Linked DNA regions of Homo sapiens: all the other regions are linked to region 4. The links are contacts of gene promoters, found by promoter capture Hi-C in blood cells and fetal thymus (Javierre and others, 2016). All regions are on one chromosome and are shown on one strand. The core of a region is centred on a gene start or on the middle of the fragment in contact, and the rest is flanking DNA. Distances in the headings are between cores, read along the strand shown.

Region 1 (2,700 bases), core at 57-2,556, 4.2 Mb before region 4:
TGAAATAGTCATTCTCCCCAGAAAAGCCAGAATAATTTCAGAAAGTCAGTTCCTGGACACAAAACAGTATCAAAAGATATAAAAAAGTTTTCAAGGGTATAACTTAAGTAAATCCTTCTATGAAAAGGGCCTGTATGATCCTCTAAAAAATGATAATATCAAGAGCACAAAAGGTTCCAAACAACAGGAAATTCGAGTGTAAAAGCAATTATTTTATATAGCAACTTAAGCCACAGAGTAAAAAACTACAAACATTTTTATCTTAAACCCTAAGTATGTCAAACAGCCAGTATACATGAAATCATATTTATCTGCTATTGCATCTTATCTATGTGATAGTAATAAGAATTGGAACCTCCTAAAATAGTATCCATTAAAGGTTCTGTTTCATTGGTCTGCTTTTATTACTGGGAAAACAATGTGAGCCACATTTGTGAATGACAAAACTCATTTCCATTCTTTTTGGTTCTCTGCCACAAATGCCAGAGTGATACTACAAATTATAGATGTTTGTGAGATTTAAGTACATTTACACGAAAATGAACAAATCAAAATTCTGAGAGAAAAAAGTATAGGATACACGAGTCTTGGGGAAGAAAAACAGCACACAGGAATATGTCCAGTATTGCATATAATTGGTGGTGGTGGTTCTCCTTCAAGTTTTTCCACGCTCAGACTGTTTTGCTTAATCAGAGATCATCCTAATGTTCAGGAGTTGTGGGGGAGGGGAGATCACCTAAGGGGCTCAGAGGCCATCTTCTCAGTATCCTGAACTAGACTTATTCGATTTCTGCATATTTCTTCTGGTCTGTCCTACATTTCAGATGGATTATGGCCAAAGACATATATTTGTGATGTCAGAAGGCTATATCCAACATGTATATAATGAATCAATCTTATAAGTCAAACTCCAAAGAAAATATCTAATCTGGAGAAGTTTATTACTAATATACAAATTAAAAATATTTATTTAGAAACCACTCCAAAATGGCACCTTTTTAGAGTTTAAGAGTTCAAGCTTAGTAAAATGTTTAGCAAATCGTCTATAAGGTAAATGTGGTCTAATCGAAAGGATGGAGACACATAACAAAATAATAAGAATTGATTCTATGATTAAAGAGATGGAGGAAGGCATGATATGTGAGCTGCAGGAAAAAATTCCTGTTATTTTCTTCCTATTGTGGTTATCAGAAAGATTCTTAAAATTATTACTTGGGTTTTTAAACTGATTGAAAAATTAAAACTCTAATGGAACTTTTAGTCCTATCCAAGCACAAATGTCTAGATAAAAAACAAAAATCTGCCAAAAAACAAAAATCAAATCAAACAAACAAAAAAAGAAAGGCTTTAACCATGATCCAGTTTCCAGATGCCAATATCCATAAATGGGTAGGAGATTATGAATTACTAATTCCCATCTCCCCACCAATAAAAAGCAAACCAGCTCAGCAGTGAAAATTCCCAGAAAAGCAAGGTTTCTTCTTAGTCCTGAAGCAGCCATCGCCTAAGTGCTGCTCCCTGCAGCCAGCAGCATTAATGGACGCTGCACTGCTGTCCTTCCCTGGAGACAGCAGCCAGCACTACTCAAGCTTCTCACGTAGCAACCAGAGCTCCAGAGCCAGCAGCTGCTGCTGCCTTGTATACTCACCCCTGTGATCCAACCCAAAGGAACAACCTTCTCTTTACCCCACCCCCACTCCTTACACACACTTTTTTTTTTTTTTTTTGGACCAGTGCTCCATGCCAGAAGGGCTGGAATTATGCTTTTAAGAAAGAAACAATCCTAAGGTCACCCTTTTAAACCAAGGCCTTTTATTAGAAAAATCAACATTTACCAAATTCTAAATATCCATTTTAATTAAGCCAGCAGTTTAGGAGTGAAGATTAAGCTTTGGTCTTTTGAAAGCCAATTTCCCAAGCACTCTACAATCTAATTTAAATTTGCAGCTAGAAACAGAGCCTTGTGTCATGTCCTACCAAAGGGCATAATTCATTTTTCTACACATAATGACAGTCTGAGTAAACCTTAAAGACTCTAATCCCATAACAGGCCAGAATTTTTGGCTACAGAAGAGAACTAATGATCCTGAGAAAACTGGAAGAAATCCAATAGAAAAAAAAAAGCCCTACGTCCTCTATGGAGCCCAGAAACCTCTGATTACGTGGGTATTCTCTGCTTTAGTCCTAGCTCAGATCCCACACATCTAAAATTACCACTTAGAACTTTCTGTGACCTAAAAACATTAATAATATAAAATTAACAACCAAAAAATAATTTCAAATAGGGAGTACACACTCTCCTAAAAAGCTCAGCACACTCCACTCAGCTGGATCCTCCCCAATCACAAGTATAGCTATGTAACATCTGTCCAACAAAGAAATGTAAATATGACCTTGGTCACAAATATGTCATCTAAAAACTTGTTTAGTCAACTGATGAAGGTAATTAGCACAGAACTTGGGGATTCGTTCAGTACCTATGTGCAGGAAGGAAACTGGAGAAATGAACTTAAATATAGACAAAGCCCAGTGGAACCCAGAGGTCTGGGAAAGAAATGAGTTACCGGTGAATACATTGCACAAGTAACATGAGAAAGCAGAAAATGCAGGTCATACACGCACCCCTGACCCAGACCAGCAGAGCTGACTGCAGCATCCATATCCAAGAGAAAGACCACTGACGCCCAAGAAGTGAGACAA
Region 2 (2,700 bases), core at 173-2,672, 3.3 Mb before region 4:
TCAGCCTCATGAATCAGTACCTAGAAACGCCACTGAGTCATACAGCCCAAACAGATGCTCTCTTCTAAGGGCAGGTTTCTTATGAGGTCATTAGTCAGCCAAGAGCCCTTTCCCTATGCTCCTGCCCTTTGGTGTCCCTGACATCAGTACTGTGAAAAATACAACCCAAACATTCAGCTGCCTCTGAAAACATATGCTGAGCAAAGACAACTGGTCTACCACTGTATCGCTGTAGGAAGGCTGAGGGACCACTGGCTGCTGGTGGGACCTAAGAGCTGCCAATAGTCCCCCTTGCCTCAGCCTCCTTTTCACTCAGTGCCACTGGTGGTTTCTTCCCAAAGGCCCTATTTAAAATGTGACAACTGGGAGGACTACTACACTCATTCTACTGTTACACTGTAGGGATGACCAGAGTTGAGATGTGGCTCTGAAGGTGTGTGTCCTGGAAAATCTGAGGGTGGTTGGAAAAGGAAGGAGAGGTATGTGTGTGTGTTGGGGAGGGGAGAGGTCAAGGAACACAAAGACTCACAGAACACTGACATTATTTGGCCTGTCTCCTGCCTTATGAAAAATAAATTCTACCAGACTCAAGTTTACTTGGCAGGGATCAAAGCTTTCCTATTCATTGTCATGTATTCAGTACTTAGCACAGTGGCTGGCACATAACAGATGCTAAATAAATATTTGCTATATAAAGAAATGAGTGACTGTTGCCCTATCTTATAAGCAAGACATTGGAGGGAAAGACTGGTAATGGAGCAGGGGAGGGCTGCTATGGAAAGGGTAGCGACCAAACACCCAAGACGAATTGTGGCTATTCTCATGATTTTGCAATGTGATGTGGCCTGAGTATATTTATGGCTAGGTCCAAGTTTAACTACAAAGAGAAGGTCCTGCAGTCTGAGAGCTTAGAAGCCCCATGTGATGTAGGTAAACTGAATTTGGTCTTCCACATCCCAATACTTAATAACCTATGGGATTTTTGCATCATGCTGATGAGAGGGGGTATCCATAACAGCAGGAGGAAATGTTTATCAAGGGTATATTATGTATCCAGGCACTTTATGCACTTTACCTCATTAAACTATCGTTTAAATGTAGAACTACGGTGAGCTATCTTTCTCAAATGAGGAACCAGAGGTCCAGAGAGGATCAGTAACTTGGCGAAGTTTGCAGACCTGGCAAATTGAAGAGCTGCAGGTCACATCTAGATCTTTGTGCTTGCAAATGTTGTGTGTTTAACGGCTCCTCGAAGTGGCTTCTGGACCTTGTGGCCAAAGCTAAGTTCACAGCCAAAATGTCCACCTGAACTTCTGAGTTTCAAGGTATGAGGTTGACACAAAACTGGGATACTCTGGGGGTGGAAGTGACAGAATACAGCAGACACTCTTTTCTCCTTCATTCATAAAAGATGCTGTGAGTCAATGTATCTTGGTTGTGGCACCACTCATGTAAATGTAAGTTTGTAAATTTCAGATATGCCATTTCTTATGTAAAGTTCAGATGTGCCATTTTTTTCTTTGTAAATTTCAGATATGCCATTTCTCCCCCTGTCCCATTTGTGACATGAAGGGGTTGAATGAGCAGATAACAAGATTCTGCTCAGCTCTTTTAGACAATGGCTCATTAGCCTTTGTCTCCAGAGATAAATTTTACAAAGGATTCAATATTTTTTAAACAGGAGGAGGAGACAAAATCTATACACAAAGCATGTGGATTTGAAACAGCCACCTTGAGTTGGACACTGGCACTCCTTTGTCCTTCAATAGAGTTACTTGCCAAATGGAGCCTTTGTTTCTTCTCCCTTAGCAATTATATTTCCTTTTAAAGCATGTCCCGGTGGGGGCCCAGGCCATGTTTGGCTTGGTCATGATTTATATATTATTGGGTAGGCCATGGGTCAGGCTGACTAGACATGTAGAAATGCACATGTCAAGGCCAACCTTATCCCCAGGGCAGAGTTTCCTGAAAGCTCTGGGACAAGGTCTCTAGAATTATTTTTAGAGTATTAGGATAACATGTATTATTCTTTAAAAGGTCTCTCTACTAGTCTTCTGCCGGGAGATGTCCATTAGCCTTCTGGAAAACCAGGAGAAATCAAGAAAGTCTTTATTCTATACCCGAGAAATGGCTCTGATTTGGTGTAGGTGACAGTATACTCCTGGTGGTGACCAAGAGATATCAAAGAGATACAGGTGCCTAGCAACATTTTGCAAATGCTGGGAAGCTTCTGAACCAGACTATCAATGAGTTCAGTGGGCTGGAAGAAATTGATCTGTGTATGAAAGTCACAGTAATAATCATAGTCCCTCCTCACCAGATTTCTGCTTTCTACGAATGCCTTCTGTTTCTTGCAGAGTGAAAAGAACTGAAGTTTTGGAGTCAGAGAGGCCTGAGTTTGAGTTCTTAATCTGTCATTATGTGACCTTAGACAAGTCGTTTCAAACTCTTAGTCTTAACTTACTCATGTGTAAAAAAGGACACCAATATTTTTGCATGGTAGTCCTTGAAGCTAAAGAGCTAACACACAGGAAAATGTCAATCATCTCCGGACCCTTAGAGATGTCTTTCCTTCCTCTCTTTTGCCTAGCCCCAAACTTGCCTGTCCTAACAGAGAACAAGTCTGTTGGGAGGCAAGAATCCAAATAGATAATAAAAGTAAGAACAGACTCCTTTCTCTTTTCTGAGAAAAAAATGTAA
Region 3 (2,700 bases), core at 37-2,536, 3.3 Mb before region 4:
CAACAGGGTGTGCTTCCCTCTGCTTGGATGCTTTCCATGGCAAGCAGCTCATTTCCCCCACCCCCACCCCCTTTTTTTTTTTAACCAGCCAGTTCCAAGGACTTTTGGACAGCTCTGATTGTTAGAACGTTCTTCTTTACCTTGGGCTGACATCTGCTTTCCTGGGGCTGTCACCCTTCTGTGCTTTTCCAGCCTCTGGAATCTATTTGAAGGGCTCTCCCTTTCCCACATGATGACAGCTAATCTATTAGAAAGCTAGGATCATGCGCATGAGAGGCCTTCTCCTCCTCTCCTCTCCGTATTTTAGGCACTATGGTACTCTGCTTAAGTTTGATTCCACCATTATATTCCACTTTGTGGGCAGTGGCCCTCCCCTCCTATCTCAGTAAGCTGGTATGACCTGTAAGGGGGTAGAAGCTCCTGCTTTGGAGTCAGACAAATTTGGTTCAAATCCCTGGTTGGCTACTTACCATGATCCTCAATCCACCTATTATAAAATGGAGGCAATACTACCAACCTCATAGTCCTGGCACACAGATTAAATAACCAGCGTGCAGCCTAGTGCCTGGCATGGAGAAGGTGTTTGATACTTGGTAGCTGTATAATTATTTGCCAATTGCCAGGTAGTTAGCTATCATGTTTGGTTCTCTGAGAAACTCTTCCCAGTGACATTTAAGATTTTGCTCAGGCGGTCAGGAGATGGAGACCATCCTGGCTAACACGGTGAAACCCCGTCTCTACTAAAAATACAAAAAATTAGCCAGGCGTGGTGGCGGGCGCCTGTAGTCCCAGCTACTCGGGAGGCTGAGGCAGGAGAATGGCGTGAACCCGGGGGGCGGAGCTTGCAGTGAGCCGAGATCGCGCCGCTGCACTCCAGCCTGGGCGACAGAGCGAGACTCCGTCTCAAAAAAAAAAAAAAAAAGAGATTTTGCCCAGGCTGCATTTGGGAGTCCATTCTTCGCTTGTGACAAAAAATGGCATTAAATAATTGTTCCACTTATCACAACCACAGATTTTTAGGAGGAAAATAGGATAGTCAGCATGTTGCTCAATGGCCATTTTAGTTTGTTCACACAAGGCAGGTAATAATTTAAAAACATAATTTGGATTTTCTGTGGCTAACCATGCACATCCCAAGAGGCCCCTTGGGAATGCAGCAGAATGTCCAGACAGCCACGGGCAGAATTCCAAAGCTTCTGAAAGATGAGTGTGTTCGTGGCTGATGAACAAGGTATGAAGACACCAAATCCCCCTGACAAAGTCCAGCAATGCCTTGCTGCTGATCAGTCTTTCTGGAAAGACTGGATGAGCTCACCCAGAAGAAAAGAGTGGGTGGGAGATTTCAGGAAAGATTCTTACTTATCAGAAATTAAGCTTTAAAAGTTTTGGGCCTTCCTGTTGATTCTCCTAGCTTTTCTCACAACCCAAGACACATGGTTTAGCAATGACGTCATCTGACATGGATAGTCACACTGAAGTCAGAAGCTGTCAAACAGATCCTGGATTATGACGGAGGGTGGAAGGGATGTACAATTTGAGGGCCATGTGAGTGTGAAGTGAGTAATGCTTTGCAGTAGGGTGTTCCTCCCTATCCCATCATTGATGGGTAGCAAACACAGAATTAAACTCTTCGATATATTCAGAAATAGTTATTATGTGTTCCTCTAAAGACCTTACTATTTCCTAGGTAAAATTTACAATTCTGTAGTCCTACCTCTTGTCATGCTAGCAAACTACTTTTATATACTCCAGTTGAATATAAATGGCCAATTTCTATCATTTAGTTTGTTCTTTTTTTCATTGAATCACTCAGTTATTCAATCTGTGGAGCAGTCTTTCAGGCATTTAACAAATAACAATTGCACATCTCTTTCTGTATCAAGAGTTCTGCTGGGCATGCAGCAATGTAAAAAGACACACAGGATTCACTCTCTTGGGGAAGACAGATGTTAAACAAACAATTACAACAAAAGGTAATGAATGGGAGCATTGTGACAGGAAAAGAATGGGCCTTGAGGCAAGAAAAATTGAGTCTGGCTGGCGCTTATAGTTCTCTATTACCAAAAGTATCAGATTCCAGTGGCTTAACTTCTAGGACATCTAAATAAATAACTCCAAACACTCCTCCATTAGAAAGAGTAAGAGCTAACATTTGTGGAGCTCTTGCCATGTGGGTAGACACTGAGCCAAGCCCTTTACAAAGATAGTCACACTTAATCCTCCCAATAATCCTAGAGTTAGGGCCTCTGAGTACTCCCATTTCACAGATGAGGAAGCTGAAGCTCAAAGTGATTAAGCAACTTGTCTGTGGTCATGCCGAGCCAGGTGGCAGAGATGGGAGTTGAACTCTGGTCTCTCTGAGCTCCTGGTAATAACCATGAATGCTTGTCCCCCATCACATGCCTAGGAACTGGAAAAGCTGTGACAAAAGGCTTCGAGAACTCAGGAACTTCCTAGTTTACTCCCAAAGAGCCAGTAATCCTGCAGTGAGGCTCACAGCCCTTGGGTACAAGAGGAAGAATTGGGGTGACCAGGTCAGAGGGCATCTTAGGGTGAACTATGCTCCTGAGTCCCAGAAAGCATGAGAAAGGTTTTTCGGGAAGTTACTTATAACAGTAGAAAGAACGTTAGGCAATCCAACCCAGAAATGAATCAATCTTAGATTCACGTGTGCATTTTGATTGTAGCTGGAATAATATA
Region 4 (2,700 bases), core at 95-2,594:
CCTGACCTTCCCGGACAACCACGCCACCAGAGGCGGGGGATTTATAGACAGATCGTACAGGGCGATGACGTTGACAGTCAATCTGGCATCCAGTGAATTTCACCTCAAGTATCTGGACCCCAAAAGTGGGCCACATAGCTTCCCTCCCCACCACCTAACTATCCTCAGCCTAAGAAGCAGCCCCTGTGAAGGAGAGGCTGTAACCCCGTTCTGCCTCAAACTCAATGGACGGCTTTGGAGAAGTCAACTATAGGCTTTTTACATAGAAAAGACGTGGGTGTGGCAATGTGATAGAGGTGGGGGTGCGAGGTAAAGGCTTGTTCTGAGGCTGCGTTTACACGGGGGGCATGATGGAGATTTCATTTAGAGTTTATGCTCATCCGGAGGAAGGGGTCGGATGGAAGTGGAAAGCCCTCCAAGCCAGCCCTTGGCACTGCCACTGTCCCTTCTGGTCCTGGACCTCAGTATCCTCACGCGTAAGACACTGAGCTGGACAGCAGTTCTGAAGTTTGGAGATTCCGGGAGAATCAGGAGAGGAAGGCCACCGGCCCACCCCGCACCCTCAAGCTCGGGGGTCTTCACAGGGACTCACACGGGACAGGGCGCGGGAGCGCTGCCCGGGACCCTAACGGCCCTGGCGCCCTCGGGGGCCCCGGAGGACAGAGGGCTGCACCCCGGCGCGGAGGGCGGAAGGAAGCGCGTGGGCGCGCGGCCCCGGGCGGCGGGGGCTACTCACGGGTCCCCGCGGTCGGGCCCACGGCCGCGGCAGTGGATGGGGTTGAGCTCGTCCTGGGGGAAGGCGTGAGCCATGTAGTTGTCGTAGCCAAAGACGAACATGCCCCGTGCCAGGTCGCGCATCTGGGCACGCAGCTGCGGAGGGAAGGCGCCGCTGTAGCGCTTCTCGTACTCGTCCGGGCCGCGGCCCCGGCCGCCCAGCACGTAGCCCCAGTTGGCTGGGCCGCACATCCCCGGCCCAGGACGCCGCGGAGCCTTGCGCGGGCTCTGCGCTGCCCCGGTCCCCGGCGGCTGCAGCCACGACGGCCCGGATACCCCCCCAGGCCGGCCCACGGGCCCCGAGGTGGGCGACGCGGGGCCGTCGGGGCTCCTCAGACGCTGGAAGCCGAAGCTGAGCGGAAAGCGCTGGTAGAAGCCCATGCTGGGCCCCAGCCCGAAGACGAGCCACAATACTCCATGGAGGCCAAGCCGGAGGAGCACCAGCCCCAGGACGAGCGCTCGCCATTGCATGGTCGCGCGGGCGCCGCGGGCATTATTTTAAAGCGCGGGGGCCTCCCCGCCGACCACCGCACCCCGCGCTCGCCCCGTAGCCCGGCTCGCTTCCCCTTTAAGGAACTCCCCCGTGACGCACCAGGAACTAGCCCATCGTCCCCAACCCCCAGGCTCTCCGGCGGGCCGGCCAGGCCCCACGGTCGCCCGCCCAGTGGCCCGGGATTGGCCCGGCCTGGGCCCGGCCTCGCGGGGCGCGGCCCAGGACTCCCTCCCACGCAGTAGGCCGCCAGGACGTCCGCGACGCCCCGAGGCCCCGCCCCTCACCCGGGCCCCGCCCCAACTCCCAAGCCCCGCCCCCCTGGGCGGTCCGTAGCCCGATGGGCTGGCGTGGCGAGCAGGAGCCGCGCCGGCCCGCGAGGGAACTTCCAGCCAATGGGAGAGCGGCACGGCAGCGCCCGCCGGACGCTGGACACAGACGTGACCCCAGACCGCCTGGCCTTGGGTGGATCGGGTCTCTGGGCAGAGCGTGTGTCCGGCAGAGCTAGGACCGGAAAAAGCCACTCTAGGTCTAGGTTAGGAGTGATGACAGTTAAAAGATATATAAGGAAAAGAAGGAAAGGATCGTTTCTGTATAAAACGAGCTATTTTTGCATATCGAGCGCATAAGTTTTATAACTTAGGTGTCTGTTTATGGAGAGGGTGGGATACTACCTTTTAGCTCAAGGAGTGCACAAAACGGTATCATGAATTCTGCTCTTTTGATTCAAACACCCAACTTTGAAGAATCGCTCATGGTGCTTGTAAAACACGTATCCCCAGATCCCTCCCTAGACCTATCGAACAACTCCAACGGTCTCGGGAATGTGCGTGTAAGTACTCTTGGACAGTTCTTAGAAACTGGAAGTTTCAGGAAATACAAAGTTATGTTATATTGCTTTTGTCTCGGAAATAGGATTTTTTTAAAAGGGGGGGGCGGGTTGGGGGTGGGAATGAAGGCTCCCACCACCACCAAATTATTTACCAGATATATCTAAACATGTCTTCTCCTGTCCCTCCCATCCTACCATCTCTCCTGTGCACCCGCAATTAGTGACCTAACCTTTGAGGTGTGGGGTAGATTCCCAGTTAAATAACTTTACCCCTCTGTATCTACTTCCTATAATTAAGAAGATTGCAAATGTTAGCTCTAAAGGGCTATGGCTTTCACATAAAGATTCAATGGTTTAGGCGCTTATTTATTTTGCTTGCTGCATTTGGAGTTGGCTGTAAGTTTTGCCCTCCCTAAGTTTAGACCCTATGCCTGTTTCATCAGGGTTTCTGAAAAGCTTGGGAAGCAAGACCTGACTAGACCCCCAAATCTGATATTGGCTGAATGGCCGACCAATGGAGTGCATAAGAAGGTAAGTTGTCATGTGGCACTCTCATCACATTTTCAGGGTAGAGGACTTTCTGAAATACAGAGGAGGTGTAAGG
Region 5 (2,700 bases), core at 36-2,535, 3.2 Mb before region 4:
CAGATCCAACAGCTAGTGAGTGTCAACATTTGAAATGAAATTTGCTTGGTGCTGTTTTGTGATACTTTGAATTGTTTTAAAATCTCTTGCAAAAACTTTCAACTTATTTTAAATCTGTAATTATAGAAAATAGACGACACTATACTGTCTCCTAAATACCCAATTTACCTAACTTCTCCTTTATCCTTGTTCACACCCTTACATTGTAGTTTGGGTCCTTTTTCACATCTCCCAGCCTTTTTTTTTTTTTTTTTTCTGGTCTTTTTTGTTTTTGTTGTTGTACTGTTTTTGTTTGTTTTGTTTTTAAAGCAAACAAATTAAAATAGGATGGCGTATAATACAATGCATGCATTTAAAAAGTACAATGTTATATACATGTGAAATGATAACCAAAATAAAGATAATGAACATGCACATGACCTACAAAAGTTTCCTTGCTCCTTTCATAATTCTTCCTCCCATCTGCCCTGACCCTATCCCCAGCAATCACTGGTCTGCTTTCTGGCACTATAAGCTACTTTTTATTTCCTAGAATTTTATGTAAACGAAATTATACATCATGCCCTCCTCTTTTTGGATTGCTTTCTTTCAAAGTGATTATTGTGAGGTTTATTCACATTTAGTGTATAACAGTAGTTCATTACTTTTTATTACTGTTGTATTCTATTGTGTAGATGTACCATGACTTGCTTATCTATTGATATATGTTGATGGGCATTTGGCTTGTTGCCAATTTTTATACATAAGGCCACTATAAACATCCACATATAAATCTTTGTGTGAGCATAAGCTTTCATTTATCTTGGGTAAATACTAGGAGTGGAGTGGCTGGAGCATATGGTAGGTATATGTTTAACTTTAAAAAGAACTGCCACACTGATTTCCAAAGTGGTTGTACCATTTTACATTCTGACCGTGAGAGTTCCAACTTATTTCATGTTCTCATCAGCACTGAGTATGGTCGATATTTAAAATGTTACCTGTCTTGCCAGGTGTATAGCGGCATCTCATAATTTTAACTTATGTTTCCCTAATAACCAGTGATATTACATATCCTGTGTGCTTATTTGCCATCCATACATTTTCTTTGGAAATAGTTTAGAAATCTTTGCCTAGTTTTAAAATCAGTTTTTTTTTTAAATTTCTGAATGTTGAGAGTTCTTTATGTATTTTGGAGACGTGTTCTTTATTATATATGTAATTTTCAAATATTTTCTCTCAGTCTGTGGTATGTCTTTTCATTCTCTTTTTATTTGAAAAGCTGACTTTTTTATTATTTAGGTGAAGTCTAATTTATCTTTTTGTTCTTTTATAACATGTGCTTTGGATGTTATATATATACAATTCTTATTTAACCCAGTGACAAAGGCTTTCTCTTCTGTTTTATTCTAGAAGTTTCATAGTTTTAAGTTTCACATCTAGATTTATGATACAGTTTAAGTTAAGTTTTGCATATGATGCAAAATGCAAATGCAATTCAGGGTATAAAGAATAGTCACTTAAACAAGTGGCACTGGAATAATTGGACACTTGGATGCCAAAACAACAAAAGGAGGATGTTGATTCATACTTCATTTATTGGGTGCTTTATAAATGTAAATATGAAGACCATTTAGGTAAAATTGATTGATAATGTTATTTAAGTCTATATCCTTACTAATTTTCTGTCTACTTGTTTTATCCGTTATTTTAAAATATTGAAGTCTATGATTATATTTGTGGATTGATTTGTTTGTCCCACGGTTGTAAAAAACTTTTGCTTCATGTTTTTTGAAGCTTACTTATAAGGTTTATAAACATTTAGGATTGTTTTATGATCTTGATGAATGACCCCTTTATTATGATGAAATGACATTTGCTGTCCACAATACTTTTCTTTTCTCTAACATTTACCTTCTCTGTCTAATATTAATAAAGCCATCATATGTTTCTTTTGATTAAGGCTAGCATGTCATATCTTTTTCATTCTTTTAATATTAACATATTTGTGTCTTATATTACAAGTGTGTTTATTGTAGGTAGCATATGGTTGTGTCTTGCATTTTTGTCCAATTTGAAATTGTCAGCTTTTTAATTAGGGTGTAACATTAAATGTAAGAGTAACACTTACATTTAATGTTATTATTGATATGCTTAAGTTTAAACTGTTATCTTGCCTTTTGTTTCCTATTTATCCCATATTGTCTTTGTTCCCCCTTGCTATGGTTTCTCAATATAGTTTGTCTCCACCAAAACTCATGTTGAAATTTGATCCTTAATGTGGTGGCATTAAGAGGTGGAGCCTAGTGGGAGGTGTTCAGTTATGGGGACAGATCCCTCATGAATGGCTTGGTATTGTTCTCATGGCTGCGAGTGAGTTTTCACTCTCTTGAGACTGTGTTAGTTCTCTTGGGAATGGATTAGTTCCTGGGAGAGTGATGTCACAAACCCAGGATGTCCCTCAGTTTTTTCTCTCTCTTCAGGTGTCCACTTCCCCTTTGACCTTCTTTGCCATGTTATGATGCAACACAAAAGCTCTCAGCAGAGGCCAGGGACATACCCTTGAACTTCTTAGCTTGCAGAACCACCAGCTATATAAGCCTATTTTTAAAAAATAAATGACTCAATAGCAAGTATCCTTTTATAGCAACACAAAACAGACTAAGCCATCCCTTACCCTTTTTTTCTGCCTACTTTTGGATTAATTGAATATTTTTAATG

What was found. Contacts are between HindIII fragments. The CHiCAGO score rates a contact against its expected background, and 5 or more counts as called.
Region 1: a contact is called between a fragment that was not itself captured here and the fragment with the promoter of EDEM1 in region 4, in 1 of 17 cell types (naive CD8 T cells). The highest score is 7.0, in naive CD8 T cells.
Region 2: a fragment that was not itself captured here is called in contact with the fragment with the promoter of EDEM1 in region 4 in 1 of 17 cell types (endothelial precursors); the score reaches 9.0 in endothelial precursors.
Region 3: a fragment that was not itself captured here is called in contact with the fragment with the promoter of EDEM1 in region 4 in 1 of 17 cell types (M0 macrophages); the score reaches 5.8 in M0 macrophages.
Region 5: a contact is called between a fragment that was not itself captured here and the fragment with the promoter of EDEM1 in region 4, in 2 of 17 cell types (total CD4 T cells and naive CD8 T cells). The highest score is 7.1, in total CD4 T cells.

Annotation. Positions count from the first base shown.
Region 1 is chr3:9,398,855-9,401,554 of GRCh38, reverse strand. The region is part of intron 1 of SETD5 (SET domain containing 5); the gene reads right to left. Among named protein-coding and RNA genes, the nearest start is that of SETD5, 2.6 kb to the right of the region's middle. The HindIII fragment of the contact is 571 bases long and covers 1,021-1,591 here.
Region 2 is chr3:8,507,475-8,510,174 of GRCh38, reverse strand. All of the region lies in intron 1 of LMCD1 (LIM and cysteine rich domains 1), which reads right to left. Among named protein-coding and RNA genes, the nearest start is that of LMCD1, 7.0 kb to the right of the region's middle. The HindIII fragment of the contact is 1,614 bases long and covers 616-2,229 here.
Region 3 is chr3:8,488,953-8,491,652 of GRCh38, reverse strand. The region is part of intron 3 of LMCD1-AS1 (LMCD1 antisense RNA 1); the gene reads left to right. Among named protein-coding and RNA genes, the nearest start is that of LMCD1-AS1, 11 kb to the left of the region's middle. The HindIII fragment of the contact is 181 bases long and covers 1,196-1,376 here.
Region 4 is chr3:5,186,351-5,189,050 of GRCh38, reverse strand. EDEM1 (ER degradation enhancing alpha-mannosidase like protein 1) reads right to left here and starts at 1,344. Exons shown (of 12, transcript NM_014674.3): 1 at 737-1,344. The coding sequence starts at 1,245. RefSeq lists an enhancer at 356-405 and silencers at 556-845, 896-1,065, 1,306-1,715. The HindIII fragment of the contact is 7,598 bases long and covers 1-2,554 here.
Region 5 is chr3:8,346,297-8,348,996 of GRCh38, reverse strand. All of the region lies in intron 3 of LMCD1-AS1 (LMCD1 antisense RNA 1), which reads left to right. Among named protein-coding and RNA genes, the nearest start is that of LMCD1-AS1, 150 kb to the left of the region's middle. The HindIII fragment of the contact is 986 bases long and covers 793-1,778 here.